Regions from separate parts of the Homo sapiens genome. Here region 2 is linked to region 1. The links are contacts of gene promoters, found by promoter capture Hi-C in human tissues and cell types (Jung and others, 2019). All regions are on one chromosome and are shown on one strand. The core of a region is centred on a gene start or on the middle of the fragment in contact, and the rest is flanking DNA. Distances in the headings are between cores, read along the strand shown. Region 1 holds the start of EIF2B1 (eukaryotic translation initiation factor 2B subunit alpha). Region 2 overlaps RILPL2 (Rab interacting lysosomal protein like 2).

Region 1 (7,640 bases), core at 3,285-5,784:
TTTAAGAGTCAAAATGCAAGTAAATGATTTTATGATCAGGGGAGGCCTAGGTGGCAAAAGGACGTATGCTGGTGGGAGGGGCATTATGATAGTTTCATTACACCTTTACTGGAAGATGGTTCAACTTGCACCTCCTGTCTTTCCTCACTTATAAACACTGCGTGGCTTTACATCTCTGTAATAGCATCTAAAATGAAGTTAAAAAGAAAATTTCCCTCAATTTCCCTCTATTGCTAACCTTCACTAAGAAAGTCCTCAGTGTTAACCAGTGACAAGAGCTGTTCTGTTAATTCAGATTTACTACACATACAATCATAAAAATACTTCTTTAGTAAAACACTGTATTAAATCAAGAATCAGGGCCAGGTGCGGTGGCTCACGCCTGTAATCCCAGCACTTTGGGAGGCCGAAGCGGGTGGATCACAAGGTCAGGAGATCGAGACCATCCTGGCTAACACAGTGAAACCCCGTCTCTACTAAAAATAAAAAAAATTAGCTGGGCTTGCTGGTGGGCACCTGTAGTCCCAGCTACTCGGGAGGCTGAGGCAGGAGAATGGTGTGAACCCAGGAGGCGGAGCTTGCAGTGAGCTGAGATCGCGCCACTGCACTCCAGCCTGGGTGACAGAGCAAGACTCCGTCTCAAAATAAATAAATAAATAAATAAAATAAATCAAGAATCACACGTGCTGTCCCACTGTCCCTCTCTGCCTGTTTACAATGACAACCATCTCTAATAACAAGACCTACATTCATGCAGCACTTACTAAGTGCCAGGCACAATACCAAGCCCTCACACCCCTTGCCCCTTACATGTCTTGCCTCATTTAATCCTCACAACAACCCAAGGAGGTAGGTACTATTGTCATCCTTATTTAACAGATGAGAAAGCTGCACAGACAGGTTAAGTTACTTGTTCAAGTCTCCACAGCAAGTGAGTGGCAGAGCCCGGATTTTACCCCAGGCAGTCGGACTCGAAACCGTTGCTCCTCCTTACCACCATGATGATTATCCACTCACCGCTCCATCTTTGATGAAAGTATGGCACAGATCTGCAATTTTGTTTCTTGACAGTGATATTCTCCTGAGAAAAAGTTCTCCCCGCTCAATCATGATCTTTTTACATTTGGAGTAATCCTAGGAAGAAAAGAGCAAACTGAGGGGACAGGGAAGATCCAGTTAATGCTGAGAATGTCTGTCACTAAACAGAGAAGTGGAAAGGTAACCCCAGGGAGAACAGGCACTTACGGAGTATTCCAGGGAGGCAAGACTGATGAAGCGGAGGAAGAGCTCCCCGCCAGAGGACACTGCCACAGAGGAGTCCACACCACACAGGGTTTCTATGGCACTGGTGAGATTCGCCCTCAGACCCTGGATTGTCTCCCCTGGAATGATCCAACAAGGAATGTGATGTTCACATTAGGGCCACAGCCCCGACCTGTATCTTCAATTCATTCATTCATTCAGTGAATATTTACTAGGTACATACTATATACCAGGCACTATTCTAGATGCTAGGGATACATCAGTGAACAAGACAGGTAGGGTTCTGCTGTGATGGAGTTTTGATTGTAATAGAGGAAGCGGATAGTAAACAAGCACACATAGAAATAAAGCTGGGTGGCTGGGCATGGTGGCTCACGCCTGTAATCTCAGCACTTTGGGAGGCTGAGGCATGGAAAGACATTAAGTAGCAGCGGCAGATGAGGTCTGCAAGGTGGTATGGGTGAGGCTAAGGTTGTTTGGATGTTATTTTAAGAACAATGGGAAGACACTGGAGGTTGCCTTAAAGACATGTGTCTCTAGGCAAGCCCTTCAGATTAAAGGCTGCATTATTATTTTGCTTATACAAGATTTCATGCTATACCCAGATGCTTACATTTAGGGTGCTGAATTAGGGGATCACAATAAATAATACTAATACCAGAATTTATTCTGGAATATTCCCTGTAGCATCTGTACAGAATCTGGCACAAGGTGGAGGCCTAATAAACACTTATAAAGCTGAACTGCTACTGAAATTTACGCATCATGGTTAACACAATATAACATAGTCACTCTCGATTCAAAGTCTGTTTCACTTATGAAAGGGATCCTTTTCATGACAACGTAAGAGCTCTCTCCAGATTGAAAGGTCTGAAATGAAGGCAGAAGCTGAGCTTGGAGCTGTATTACTACTTTATGCAGGCAAACATGCATCTCTCACTTTCTACATTTCTAAGAGTCATTAGAAGACTTTCCTGGCCGAACATGGTGGCTCACGCCTGTAATCTCAGCACTTTGGGAGGGCGAGGCGGACGGATCACCTGAGGCTAGGAGTTTAAGACCACTGTGGCCAACATGGTGAAACCCTGTCTCTACTAAAAATAAAAAAATTTGGCCGGGCCCGGTGGCTCACGCCTGCAATCCCAGCACTTTGGGAGGCCGACATGGGCGGATCACGAGGTCAGGAGATCGAGACCATTCTGGCTAACAAAGTGAAACCCCGTCTCTACTAAAAATACAAAAAATTAGCTAGGCATGGTGGCGGGCGCCTGTAGTCCCAGCTACCTGGAGGCTGAGGCAGGAGAATGGCATGAACCTGGGAAGCGGAGCCTGCAGTGAGCCAAGATGGCACCACTGCACTCCAGCCCGGGTGACAGAGCGAGACTCCGTCTCAAAAAAAAAAAAAAAAATTTTGCCAGGCGTGGTGGTGCATGCCTGTAATCCCAGCTACTCAGAAGGCTGAGGCAGGAGAATCGCTTGAACTTGAGAGGCAGAGGTTGCAGTGAGCCGAGATTGTGCCATTGCACTCCAGCCTGGGAGACAAGAGCAAAACTCTGTCTCAAAAAAAACAAACGGCCGGGCACAGTGGCTCACACCTGTAATCCTAGCACTTTGGGAGGCCAAAGCGGGCAGATTGCCTAAGCTCAGGAGTTCGAGACCAGCCTGGGTAACATGGTGAAACCCTGTCTCTAAAATACAAAAAAATTAGCCGGACAAGGTGGTGCACACCTATAATCCCAGCTACTCAGGAGGCCAAGGCAGGAGAATTGCTTGAACCCAGGAGGCGGAGGTTGCAGTGAGCCAAGATCTCGCCACTGCACTCCAGCCTGGGTGACAGAGTGAGGCTCCGTCTCTTTAAAAAAAAAAAAAAAGAAAAGAAAAAAAAGACTATCCTAAGTCCCAGAGTGTTAACAGATGACTCTCTATATACCTTTATCTCTCTTCAAGAACTCCAGCAACGTCCGGATGGCAGCCACTGCTGAGGCCATGTCAGGATCTTCTTTCATCTGAGACTTAAAGTATTCAATTAACTCTGGAAAAAGGGAAAAAAGTGATTCACCTAATTCATTTAGCAGCCTATAAGGCAAGAGAGCTTGTTAATGACTGTTGACTTTAAGAAGCAAACAATTTAAAAAATACTTTCTTTTTAGGGTATTTGGTTTCAGGGATGCAATAAATGTTGATGGGAATAGAGAAAATACCACTTTGCTGTTTGCAAGAGCTCTTTTTTATTTTGAAAAAGCTACTGGTGGCCGGGCGCGGTGGCTCACGCCTGTAATCCCAGCACTTTGGGAGTCCGAGGCGGGCGGATCACGAGGTCAGGAGATCGAGACCATCCCGGCTAAAACGGTGAAACCCCGTCTCTACTAAAAATACAAAAAATTAGCCGGGCGTAGTGGCGGGCGCCTGTAGTCCCAGCTACTTGGGAGGCTGAGGCAGGAGAATGGCGTGAACCCGGGAGGCGGAGCTTGCAGTGAGCCGAGACTGCGCCACTGCACTCCAGCCTGGGTGACAGAGCGAGACTCCGTCTCAAAAAAAAAAAAAAAAAAGCTACTGGTGTGCAAGGCCTAAAAATTAAGCCCGAGTAAATGATGATGAAAAGTCATTCTCTCTTCAGCCTCTTTGGTCCTAAAATCTGAGAGGATCCCAGAGTCAACCATCTTGCCAATTTCTCCTGCACCCCTCCAGACAGTCTATGCTAATACATGTCTATTCACATACACATATATGTTACAAATATTATACATGGAGTTCCACCCACTCCCCTTTATTTCTTTACATGAAAAGTGTATTAGTTTGCCCTTGTTTTTCACTTAATAACCATACTAGATGAGCACATCAAATATGCCTTATTCATTCTAATTTTAATGACAGATCCAACAAGGCAGGAAGGAGACTGGCACTGGGAAGGAGCGTATGTGTGGGAGGGATGCCTGCAGATACTGCCAGGGCGCATCCCTGAAAACAAGAGCAGCGCGAGGGATTTAGTTGTGACTCTGGAAACACAACCAGCGGAGCAGCCTGAAATTCAAAAGAAATCTCTTCGGGAGCTCAGCCTGGATGTGAGAGGTTGGGGGGACCCCTGAACGGCGCTGCTGTAGCCTAGCAGCCCTGGCCTGTCTTGATTTACCCTTGTCGTCCATGGCGTCCTCCTGCTGCGGAGCCCCAGGGGACCCGAGCCGCCCGCGCTGTCTCGAACGGGTCCGCCGGCCGCGCCGCCTGCGAGCCAGTCTGACAGCGCGCTGCACACCTCCGCACCCCACTTCCGGCGCACTTCCGTACCCCTCTTCCGGCGCACTCCCCGCACTCCACTTCCGCAGATTAGGGGGCTGGCACGAGTCACAGCACCTCGTGCGTCACTTGGCGGCGCCGGACGTTGGGCTGCGCAGGATTTGAGACGCTCCCCTGACCACCACTTGCTCTGCGCTGAGGTGCTGGGACAGCCATGGTTTCAGACGGTGAGGACCCTGCAGGGCGGGACTTCGACTCCGGGGCTCGGCTGTCTCGGTCCGGCTACGACTGGCCAGATGGAATGTGTCTTTTGGGCTGGATAGAATCCGTTTGGTCTTTAGAGGAGTAGCCAAGGCATTCAGTCATTCATTCAGTAAATAGTTTTGGATCGCCTCCTGTGTACAGGCATTATTTTCTGGATTTTAGCAGAGATCGTGACAGACAGGGGCCTTAGTGGAGGTTACAGTCTACTGGGTGAAACAGATGACAATAAATAAAAATAATTTCGGCCGGGTCGCACCCCGGTGGATTAGGCCTGTAATCCCAGCACTTTGGGAGGCCGAGGAGGGAGAATCGCTTGAAGCCGGGAGTTCGAGACCTGCCTGGGCAACACAGCCAGACCCCATCTCTACAAAAAAAATGAAATATTAGCCGGGCGTGGTAGCGCGTGTCTGTGGTCCCAGCTACGCGGGAGGCTGAGGCGGGAGAATCACTTGAGCCCAGGAATTCGAGGCTTCAGTGAGCTATTATGGCAGTACTGCACCCAGCATGGCCGACAGGGCATGACCTCGTCAATAAAAAATTAAAAAATAAATTATTTTTCAAAGGATGAAAAGAGCTATGAAGATGATGTAACAGTACGGTCCTAGTTACAATAGTACATTGTGACTAGGATTGAGGAGGAGCTGTTTTAGATAGGGGCCTAGGAAAAGTGCAGGATATTGAAACCGACTTGAATGATTATGTGAAGTTCTGGGGGAAGTGCACTTTAAGTGCATGGGCCCTGTGGCAGATTGAGCCACCAAGTTACACTGAGAAGGGAGAAATGGAGAGCTTGCGGGTAGAGGATGGTGGGGAGACTCATTCATACATTAAACTACCACATACAGAGTCAGATGTCTTGAAGATTTAAAAGGAGGCTAGAGGGATGAGATCAGAGAACCAGCCAGTTTCAGGTCATGCAGGGCCTTATTGGCCGTGATAGAGAAGTTGGCCTTTATTTTTAGGTGCAATACAAAGACATTGTAGAGTTTTAAGCCAGAAAGTGTTATGATCTGGTTTGCAATTTTAAAAGATCACTGTGGCTGTTGTGTGGAAAATGGACTGTGGGGAGCAAGAATAGAGATAGGGGAGTCCTTTCAGGAACTGTAATAATTGTCCATCCTCTCTTAATTGATGTGAAACCATACCACAACCCTGTGAGGGAGGCAGGCCTGGCATTGCTCCTGTCTACAAATGAGGTAGCGAACTAAAGAAGGAAATTCACAGGGTCATTGCATGTGTATAGATGCACACCTTTCTTTACAGGCAACGCTTTTTCTGTCTGGCAGACACAGTTGTATTAAGTGCTTCTGTCCTAGGTGCTTTGTTGTGTGATTTACACATTTTTTTGTTTTGTTTTTCTATTAAAAAAGAAAAAAAGTGGCTGGGCACAGTGGCTCACGCCTGTAATCCCAGCATTTTGGAAGGCCAAGGTGGGTGGATCACTTGAGGTCGGGAGTTCGAGACCAGCCTGGCCAACATGGTGAAACCCCGTCTCTGCTCAAAATACAAAAAAATTAACCGGACAAGGTGGCGCACACCTATAATCCCAGCTACTCAGGAGGCTGAGGCAGGAAAATTGCTTGAACCCAGGAGGCAGAGGTTGCAGTGAGCCAAGATCGTGCCACTGCACTCCAGCTTGGGCGACAGAGCAAGTCTCCGTCGCAAAAAAAAAAAAAAAAAAAAGGTAGAGATAAGGTCTCACTGTTTTGCCCAGGCTGGTCTCAAACTCCTGGGCTGAAGCAATCTTCCTGCCTCGACCTCCCAAAGTGTTGGGATTACAGGCGTGAGCCACTACACCAGTTCTGATTTACACACATTATTTTATCCTAGGATTAGCAAATTCCATCATTTTTTAAGAAGTCCACAGTCTTAAGTGGGCAGGACTGGGACGAGAGATCAGAAGCACAACTAACTGTAAAATAAAATAGTAAGTGCTAAGTGTCATTAGAAGAGAGAGCTGTGGGTTGTCAGAGGTGGGCAGTGGGGCAGTGAAGAGCCACAGTCTTTATAGTCAAGCAGATCTGTCTTTAGAACAGGGCTTTGGCCTTGCCACTTGTTAGCAGGCCATATGTGACTTAGGACAAGTTACTTTCATTTGCAGAATACGAATACCATATATCATATTTCAGCTAATCTAAGATAATATTGATTATGAGATGTGCCCTTATTTAATATACCATTAAGAAAGAAAAAATGCTGCTAATCTTAATGATAAAGATACCATCCAGATGTCAACAACTATTCAATGTAAAAAACAAGGGGTGGGGGTCATCTTATAATTGATGAAAAATGGCAGGAAAATGTCCTTTGCTGGGTGGTTGTCAGGGTGGAATGGGATTTTGGGATTGCAGATTCCGGTGCTTAGTGCAGAGGAGGCTGGCATTCCTTCTGCTCTGAGATAGGGGAGTCATGAAGAAGAAAGAGTTTGCGCTGGTTTGGGGCTTTGAGGAGTAATTGGGATTTGAATACACAGAAATCAAAGATGGGGTAGAGATTCTCCTAATGTAGAAGACAGGACTGCAGGAAGCAAAGTACGGAGGGAGGAAAGGCATTACTGCTCTTTGCTATTAAATGAGCATCCTAGAGCCGGGCACGGCGGCACATGCCTGTAATCCCAACACTTTAGGAGGCTGAGGTGGGAGGATCACTTGAGCCCAGGAGTTCGAGACCAGCCTAGGCAACAAAGTGAGACCCTGTCTCTACAAAAATTTAAAAATTAGCCAAGTGGCTGGGTGTGGTGGCTCATGCCTGTAATCCCAGCACTTTGGGAGGCCAAGGCGGGCAGATCACCTGAGGTCGGGAGTTCGAGACCAGCCTAACCAACGTGGAGAAACTCTGTCTCTACTGAAAATACAAAATTAGCTGGGCGTGGTGGTGCATGC
Region 2 (7,640 bases), core at 2,253-4,752, 220 kb before region 1:
GAGACTCTGTCTCAAATAAATAAAATAAAAGATGATTGCTACAGCAACCACCTCCTGTGCCTTCTGAGACTTGGCTTGAAAACCTTTTTTTTTTTTTTTTTTTTTTTGAGACGGAGTCTCATTCTGTCGCCCAGGCTGGAGTGCAGTGGCATGAACTCAGCTCACTGCAACCTCTGCCATCCAGGTTCAAGCAATTCCCCTGCCTTGGCCTCCTGAATAGCTAATTTTTGTATTTTTAGTAGAGACAGGGTTTCACCTTCTTGGCCAGGCTGGTCTCGAACTCCTGACCTTGTGATCCACCCACCTCGGCCTCCCAAAGTGCTAGGATTACAAGCATGAGCCACTGCACCCGGCGAAAACCTACTTCTGAGCCTGTTCCTCCCCGGTCTAGGTTTGTAGTTGGAATCCTGCAGTGTGAGAACCGCCAGAGCTCAGCTGACGTCACAGCTCTGTTACCTGTTGTCAAGCTAGGCCCATCTCTAGGAGAATCACCCCAAGGACTTATTTTCCAAAATGCCCACCTGCCAGCATCAGATTTTACCAAGAGTTGCAGTCCAAGCATTTCTCACCGTAACTTTTTTTAGTCTCCTGGGGTACCACAGCCACCCAGGCCATCTTAACCTTTCTTTCTGAGTGGGTTCTCTTACCCTATCTATCCCCACAGGGAGGCAGGGGAGCATTTATATATTTGGAGACAGGGTCTCACTCTGTCACCCAGGCTGGAGTGTAGTGGTGTGATCATAGCTCACTGCAGCCTCAAACTCCCGGGCTCAATTAATCTTCCCGCCTCAGCCTCCCCAGGAGCTGGGACTACAGGTGCTCACCACCATGCCTGGCTAATTTTTTGTTTTTTGTAAAGATAGGTTCTTACTATGTTGCCTAGGCTGGTCTCGAACTCCTGGGCTCAAGCAATCCTCTCACCTTGGCCTCCAAAAGTGCTGGAATTACAGGCTTGAACCACTATGCCTGGCCAGGGTTGCAGTGTTACACAGGGTTCTAGGGATTAGGAGCCCTGATCTAATGATGCTGTTGAGACAGTGTTCTGGACTAGACTCTTAAACACTACCAGCTCTTCCTGGAAGGCAGAGTGGTTGAAGCCTGTGTGTGGACTTTGTATCTGGGCTCAAGTCCTGCTTCTACCACTTTCTAGCTGAGGACCTTAGACAAGACTTTTCACCCATTATGCCTTAACCTCCTTGGGAGGACCCCAAGGACAATAGTGATACCCATCCCACAAAAGTATGTGAGACAGCATCGGAAAGGTACTTAGAATGATGCAGGCGAGGCATACAGTAAATTATTACTATTATTAGGACTTGCCAGTGACTCTGGACCCATAAAGCTTGGCAGCTCCGCGCCCGGGCCTTGGAATCAGGCCTGCATTTGCCTCCTGGGCAAGCTGCTTCCTAGCTCCACAGCCAGAGTTTCAGTTTCTAAACCTATAAACTGGCCGGGCACGGTGACTCACGCCTGTAATCCCAGCACTTTGGGAGGCCGAGGAGGGCGGATCATGAGGTCAGGAGTTCGAGACCAGCCTGGCCAATATGGTGAAACCCCGTCTCTACAAAAATACAAAAATTAACCCAGTGTGGTGGCATATACCTATAGTCCCAGCTAGTCGGGAGGCTGAGGCAGGAGCATCGCTTGAATCTGGGAGGCAGAGATTGCAGTGAACCCAGATGGTGCCACTGCACTCCAGCCTGGGCGATAGAGCAAGACTCCGTCCCCACCACCCCCCAAAAAAAAGCCGGGTGCGGTGGCTCACGCCTGTAATCCCAGTGTGTCCGGAATTGGTGGGTTCTTGGTCTCACTGACTTCAAGAATGAAGCCGCGGACCCTCGCGGTGAGTGTTACAGTTCTTAAAGGTGGCGTGTCCAGAGTTTGTTCCTTCTGATGTTCAGATGTGTTCGGAGTTTCTTCCTTCTGGTGGGTTCGTGATCTCGCTGGCTCAGGAGTGAAGCTGCAGACCTTCGTGGTGAGTGTTACAGCTCTTAAGGCGGCGCGTCTGGAGTTGCTCGTTCCTCCTGGTGGGCTCCTGGTCTCCCTAGCTTCAGGAGTGAAGCTGCAGACCTTCGGGGTGAGTATTACAGCTCATAAAAGCAGTGTGGACCCAAAGAGTAAGCAGTAGTAAGATTTATTGCAAAGAACAAAAGAACAAAGCTTCCACAATGCGGAAAGGAACCCGAGCGGGTTGCCACTGCTGCCTGGGGCAGCCTGCTTTTATTCTCTTATCTGGCCCCACCCACATCCTGCTGATTGGTAGAGCCAAGTGGTCTGTTTTGACAGGGCGCTGATTGGTGCGTTTACAATCCCTGATCTAGACACAAAGGTTCTCCACGTCCCCACCAGATTAGCTAGATACAGAGTGTGGACACAAAGGTTCTCCAAGGCCCCACCAGAGTAGCTAGATACAGAATGTCGATTGGTGCATTCACAAACCCTGAGCTAGACACAGGGTGCTGATTGGTGTGTTCACAAACCTTGAGCTAGATACAGAGTGCCGATTGGTGTATTTACAATCCCTGAGCTAGACACAAAGGTTCTCCACGTCCCCAGCAGACTCAGGAGCCCAGCTGGCTTCACCCAGTGGATCCCGCACCGGGGCTGCAGATGGAGCTGCCTGCCAGTCCCGTGCCCTGTGCCTGCACTCCTCAACCCTTGGGTCGTTGATGGGACTGGACACCATGGAGCAGGGGGTGGGGCTCGTGGAGGAGGCTTGGGCCGCACAGGAGCCCACGGAGGGGGTGGGAGGCTCAGGCATGGCGGGCTGCAGGTCCCGAGCCCTGCCCCACGGGAAGGCAGCTAAGGCCCGGCGAGAAATCGAGCGCAGCGCCGGTGGGCTGGCACTGCTGGGGGACCCAGCACACCCTCAGCAGCCGCTGGCCCGGGTGCTAAGCCCCTCATTGCCCGGAGCCGGCAGGGCCCGCCAGCTGCTCCGAGTGCGGGGCCCACCAAGCCCACGCCCACCCGGAACTCCAGCTGGCCCGCAAGCGCCCCGCGCAGCCCCGGTTCCCGCTCGCGCCTCTCCCTCCACACCTCCCTGCAAGCTGAGGGAGCGGGCTCCGGCCTTGGCCAGCCCAGAAAGGGGCTCCCACAGTGCAGCGGTGGGCTGAAGGGCTCCTCAAGTGCCGCCAAAGTGGGAGCCCAGGCAGAGGAGGCGCCGAGAGCGAGCGAGGGCTGTGAGGACTGCCAGCACGCTGTCACCTCTCACCAGCACTTTGGGAGGCTGAGGCGGGTGGATCACGAGGTCAGGAGATCGAGACCATCCTGGCTAACACGGCGAAACCCTGTCTCTACTAAAAATACAAAAAAATTAGACGAGTGTGGTGGCAAGTGCCTGTAGTCCCAGCTACTCAGGAGGCTGAGGCAAGAGAATGGCGTGAACGTAGGCAGCAGAGCTTGTAGTGAGCCGAGATCGTGCCACTGCACTCCAGACTGTGCGACAGAGCGAGAGACTCCGTCTCAAAAAAAAAAAAAAAAAAAATCTATAAACTGGTGCACCGGTACCGGTCCCCATCTCCCCAGGTTATGAGGAACAAATGAGATAATCCACAGAGCAGGCGAAACACATTGAGTAAGCCACTGTTATTTACTAAGAAGACAGGCTCACGGAATGGTTGCGGCAGCCTCATTAGTTCCTTTGCGAAGTGCAGACACCCGCTCTCTGTTTCATTGATTCCTAAATGCATTTTGTTCACATCTTAACACCTCTGAAATCAGGATGAGTCCTAAAATCGATAGCTTCTTAACATTTTAGTTTGCAGCAATCTTTCCCTTCATAGTGACACCAGATAATCGTGCATCGCTTAGACTGAATGAATGCAATTGATTCATTATACAATGAAATGTAGATATATGACATATACACACATATACCATGTGTACCATCGTAACTAAGAGACCACTCTAGATAAGCTATAGAAAGTATAAAAATCATTTTACTTTAATACAAAATCACATAAAGAAAGGCATGTTGGCTAAATCAAATATTCACTAAATATCAGTGAAGTCACCACTGGAATCTCAATAGCACATTTTCCTGCTTTCTTTTCTCCCTTCTGCTAACCATTGAAGACCAGGGTCATCCGTGGGAGCAGATGAGTAGGACACGCGTCTGCACGCTGGAGGCCCTGGGGGTTGACATGGGAGCAGGAAGTGGACCCCCCCACCCTGCACATCCCTTCTGTTTTTCTTGATTTCAGTCTCACTGGCCCAGGCCAAATCTTCAAGGGTGTCTAGTTCTGCAGCCAGGGAGAAAGTGATGCCAAGAGAACCTCGTCTCCTCCCTCCTCAGTCTGCTTTGAAGGGGAAATAAATACACAGGCCTAGTGTGTCTGTGTGGCACAGGGAGGTGGTTTTGCCAGGCATCTTGGAAGGTTGTCTTCTAGAATCAGAGCCATAGCCTTACTTGTGGCCTTGGATCTAGGTCTGTTTCCCCGATCGAAAAAAGAACCTGGTGTGGAGAGAGAGAGGGTTCAGGGTAAGCAGAAGGAACAAAGCAAGGGGCACAGCAACCCCCGTAAAATTTCTAAGTAGCTCTTGCAGCTGTTGACTCAAAAATATGTCCAGGCCAGGCATTGTGGCTCACGCCTGTAATCCTATGATTTTGGGAAGCTGAGGCAAGAGGATGAGGATCACTTGATCCCAGGAGTCTCAGACATGCCTGGGCAGCATAGTGAGACCCCATCTCTAAAAAAAAAAAAAAATTAACCAGGCGTGGTGGCATACACCTGTAATCCCAGCTACTCAGGAAGCTGAGGCAGGAGAATCGCTTGAACCCGGGACGCAGAGGTTGCAGTGAGCCGAGATTGCGCCACTGCACTCCAGCCTGGGCGACAGAGCAAGACACTATCTCAAAAGAAAAAGAAAAAGCAAAAAAACCCCAAAAAACCCGGGTGCGGTGGCTCATGCCTGTAATCCCAGCACTTTGGGAGACGGAGGCAGGCAGATCATGAGGTCAGGAGATCGAGACCATCCTGGCTCACACGGTGAAACCCCGTCTCTACTAAAAATACAAAAAATTAGCCGGGTGTGGTGGCGGGCGCCTGTAGTCCCAGCTGCCTCGGGAGGCTGAGGCAGGAGAATGGCATAAACCCGGGAGGCGGAGCTTGCAGTGAGCCAAGATGGTGCCACTGCACTCCAGCCTGGGTGACAGATTGAGACTCCGTCTCAAAAACAAAAACAAAAAAACACATTCATTCGTTCATTCATTCACTCATTGATTCTAGTAGCTCATTAAGTTTATCTGACCCTGAAAGGGTGGCCTCACGCTCATTAGCCACTAGCCACATGTCCTCAGGCTAGCTCATGCACAGAACACACATTTCACTTTTGCTCTATTAGGCTCAAACTCCAATTAGGTGTCCTAAGCTCCCGTAGAAGGACGCTGAAAGAAACCAGTAGTTTATGCCTTCTGGAAGCCTGATTTGCAACAAGACAGCCAATGAAAGTCCTAAATGAACACCTTCACTTCGGACACCTGGGTGGAGGTGCTCTTTCATTATCTTACCTCAGAAGACCCTTCCTTGTGGAAGAAACACTTCCATTAGGCTGGGTGCAGTGGCTTACACCCGTAATCCTAGCACATTGGGAGGCTGAGGCGGGCGGATTGCTTGAGCTCAGGAGTTCCAGACCAGCCTGAGAAACGTGGAGAAACCCCATCTTTACCAAAAATACAAAAATTAGCTGGGCATGATGGTGAACACCTGTGGTCCCAGCTACTCGGGAGGCTGAGGTGGGAGGATCGCTTGAAACTGGGAGGCGGAGGTTGCAGTGAGCTGAGATCAAGCTACCGCACACCAGCCTGGGTGACAGAGTGAGACCCCATCTCAAAAAAAAAAAAAGGAAAAAAGAAACACCCCCATTGGCCTTACTTTGACCCTGTCTCCCAACCCTTCTCCACAAGGCAACCAGAGTGAGCTTTTTGTACATAAATACGGTCATGTTACTCTCCAGCTTAAAACCATCCAATGTCTCTTCCCAACGTACCTAGAATAAAACCCACAGTCAGCACCAGAAAGAATCCACGTGGCCCTGGGTGACCCAGCCCCTCCCACCTCTCCAATCCCACCTCCATTCTCTTCCCTGTTCCAGTCACCATGGTCTTCTGTTCTGAAAATTTCTTTTTTTTTTTGAGACAGAGTTTCACTGTGGTTGCCCAGGCTCAAGTGCAATGGCACGATCTCGGCTCACGGCAACCTCCGCCTACCAGAGTTCAAGCAATTCTCCTGCCTCAGCCTCCTGAGTAGCTGGGATTACAGGCATGCGCCACCACGCCCAGCTAATTTTGTATTTTTAGTAGAGATGGGGTTTCTCCATGTTGGCCAGGTTCGTCTCGAACTCTGGGCCTCAGGTGATCTGCCCGCCTTGGCCTCCCAAAGTGCTGGGATTACAGGCGTGAGCCACTGTGCCTGGCCTGTTCTGGGAATTTCTGTAGCCTGAAGCTCTTACACTTACTGTCCCGTCTACCAGGAATGCTCTTTTGTTTTGGTGGGAGACGGGATCTTGCTCTGTCATCCAGGCTGGAGTGTAGTGGTGTGACCATGGCCTACTGTAGCCTGGACCTCTTGTGCTCAAGAGATCCTCCCAAGTAGCTGGAACTACAGGCACATACCCGGCTAATTTTATTCTTTTTTGTAGAGATGAGGTCTCTACAAAAAAGCTCTCTATGTTGCCCAGGCTAGTCTCAAACTCTTGGGCTCAAGCGATCCTCTGGCCTTGGCCTCCCAAAGTGCTGGGATTACAGGCATGAGCCACTGCTCCTGTCCTGGAATGCTCTTCCTTCCGGTCTTTAATGTACTTCAGTGATCAGTTTGAATGTCACCTCCTCACAGAAGCCTTCCAGGACTTCCCAACTCGATTTTCTTGTGTTTTTTTTCCCACTGCTGTGATAAAAGATAACCCAAATCTAAAGTAGTCCTCTCTCTCCCGTTCTGTCCCCTTATTTGTGATCATAGCACATATAGCTATCTGAAATTGTCCTGTTAATATATTTCTTTACCTGTTCACTCTCTGACTCCCTCTACTAGAATGTAAGGTCCACGAGCCAGAGACTTTAGGTTCTGTTCACTGCTGTATCTTCAGCACCTACAACAGTGCCTGGCACATGGCAGACCCTCAGTAAATATTTGTTGAATGAATGGAGTACAGGAAAGCTGCAGCCTACTGTCCTGACACCTGGCAACTAAGAGGGCACATATCAGTGTGGTCCAAGGAACTTTTGAAAAAAATCCAGATTTCTGAGCTTCATCCAAGAACCACTGACTTGATTTCTTTTTCTTTTTCTTTCTTTTTTTTTTTTTTTTTTTTTTTGAGACAGAGTCTTGCTCTGTTGCTAGGCTGGAGTGCAGTGGCGCAATCTCAGCTCACTACAACCTCTGCCTCCCGGGTTCAAGCAATTCTCTTGCCTCAGCCTCTTGAGTAGCTGGGACTACAGGCTTGGGGTTTCACCATGTTGGCCAGGATGGTCTCAATCTTCTGACCTTGTGATCTGCCCGCCTCAGCCTCCAAAAGTGCTGAGATTATAGGTGTGACCCACTGCGCCCGGCTTTTTTTTTTTTTGAGACGGAGTCTCGCTCTGTCACTCAGGCTGGAGTGCAGTGGCACGATCTCGGCTCACTGCAAGCTCTGCCTGCTGGGTT

The links. The method cuts DNA at HindIII sites, captures the fragments that hold promoters and counts their contacts. A contact is called where the count stands out against the background at its distance.
Region 2: a fragment that was not itself captured here is called in contact with the fragment with the promoter of EIF2B1 in region 1 in 1 of the 25 tissues and cell types used here (mesendoderm cells).

The regions. Positions count from the first base shown.
Region 1 is chr12:123,629,152-123,636,791 of GRCh38, forward strand. EIF2B1 (eukaryotic translation initiation factor 2B subunit alpha) reads right to left here and starts at 4,535. Exons shown (of 9, transcript NM_001414.4): 1 at 4,394-4,535; 2 at 3,194-3,295; 3 at 1,246-1,382; 4 at 1,018-1,134. The coding sequence starts at 4,406. GTF2H3 (general transcription factor IIH subunit 3) reads left to right here and starts at 4,678. Exons shown (of 13, transcript NM_001516.5): 1 at 4,678-4,721. The coding sequence starts at 4,709. RefSeq lists an enhancer at 4,562-4,751. The HindIII fragment of the contact is 12,225 bases long and covers 1-7,640 here.
Region 2 is chr12:123,411,469-123,419,108 of GRCh38, forward strand. It overlaps RILPL2 (Rab interacting lysosomal protein like 2), which reads right to left. Exons shown (of 4, transcript NM_145058.3): 4 at 3,571-4,453. The coding sequence ends at 4,423. Among named protein-coding and RNA genes, the nearest start is that of RILPL2, 21 kb to the right of the region's middle. The HindIII fragment of the contact is 7,685 bases long and covers 1-7,345 here.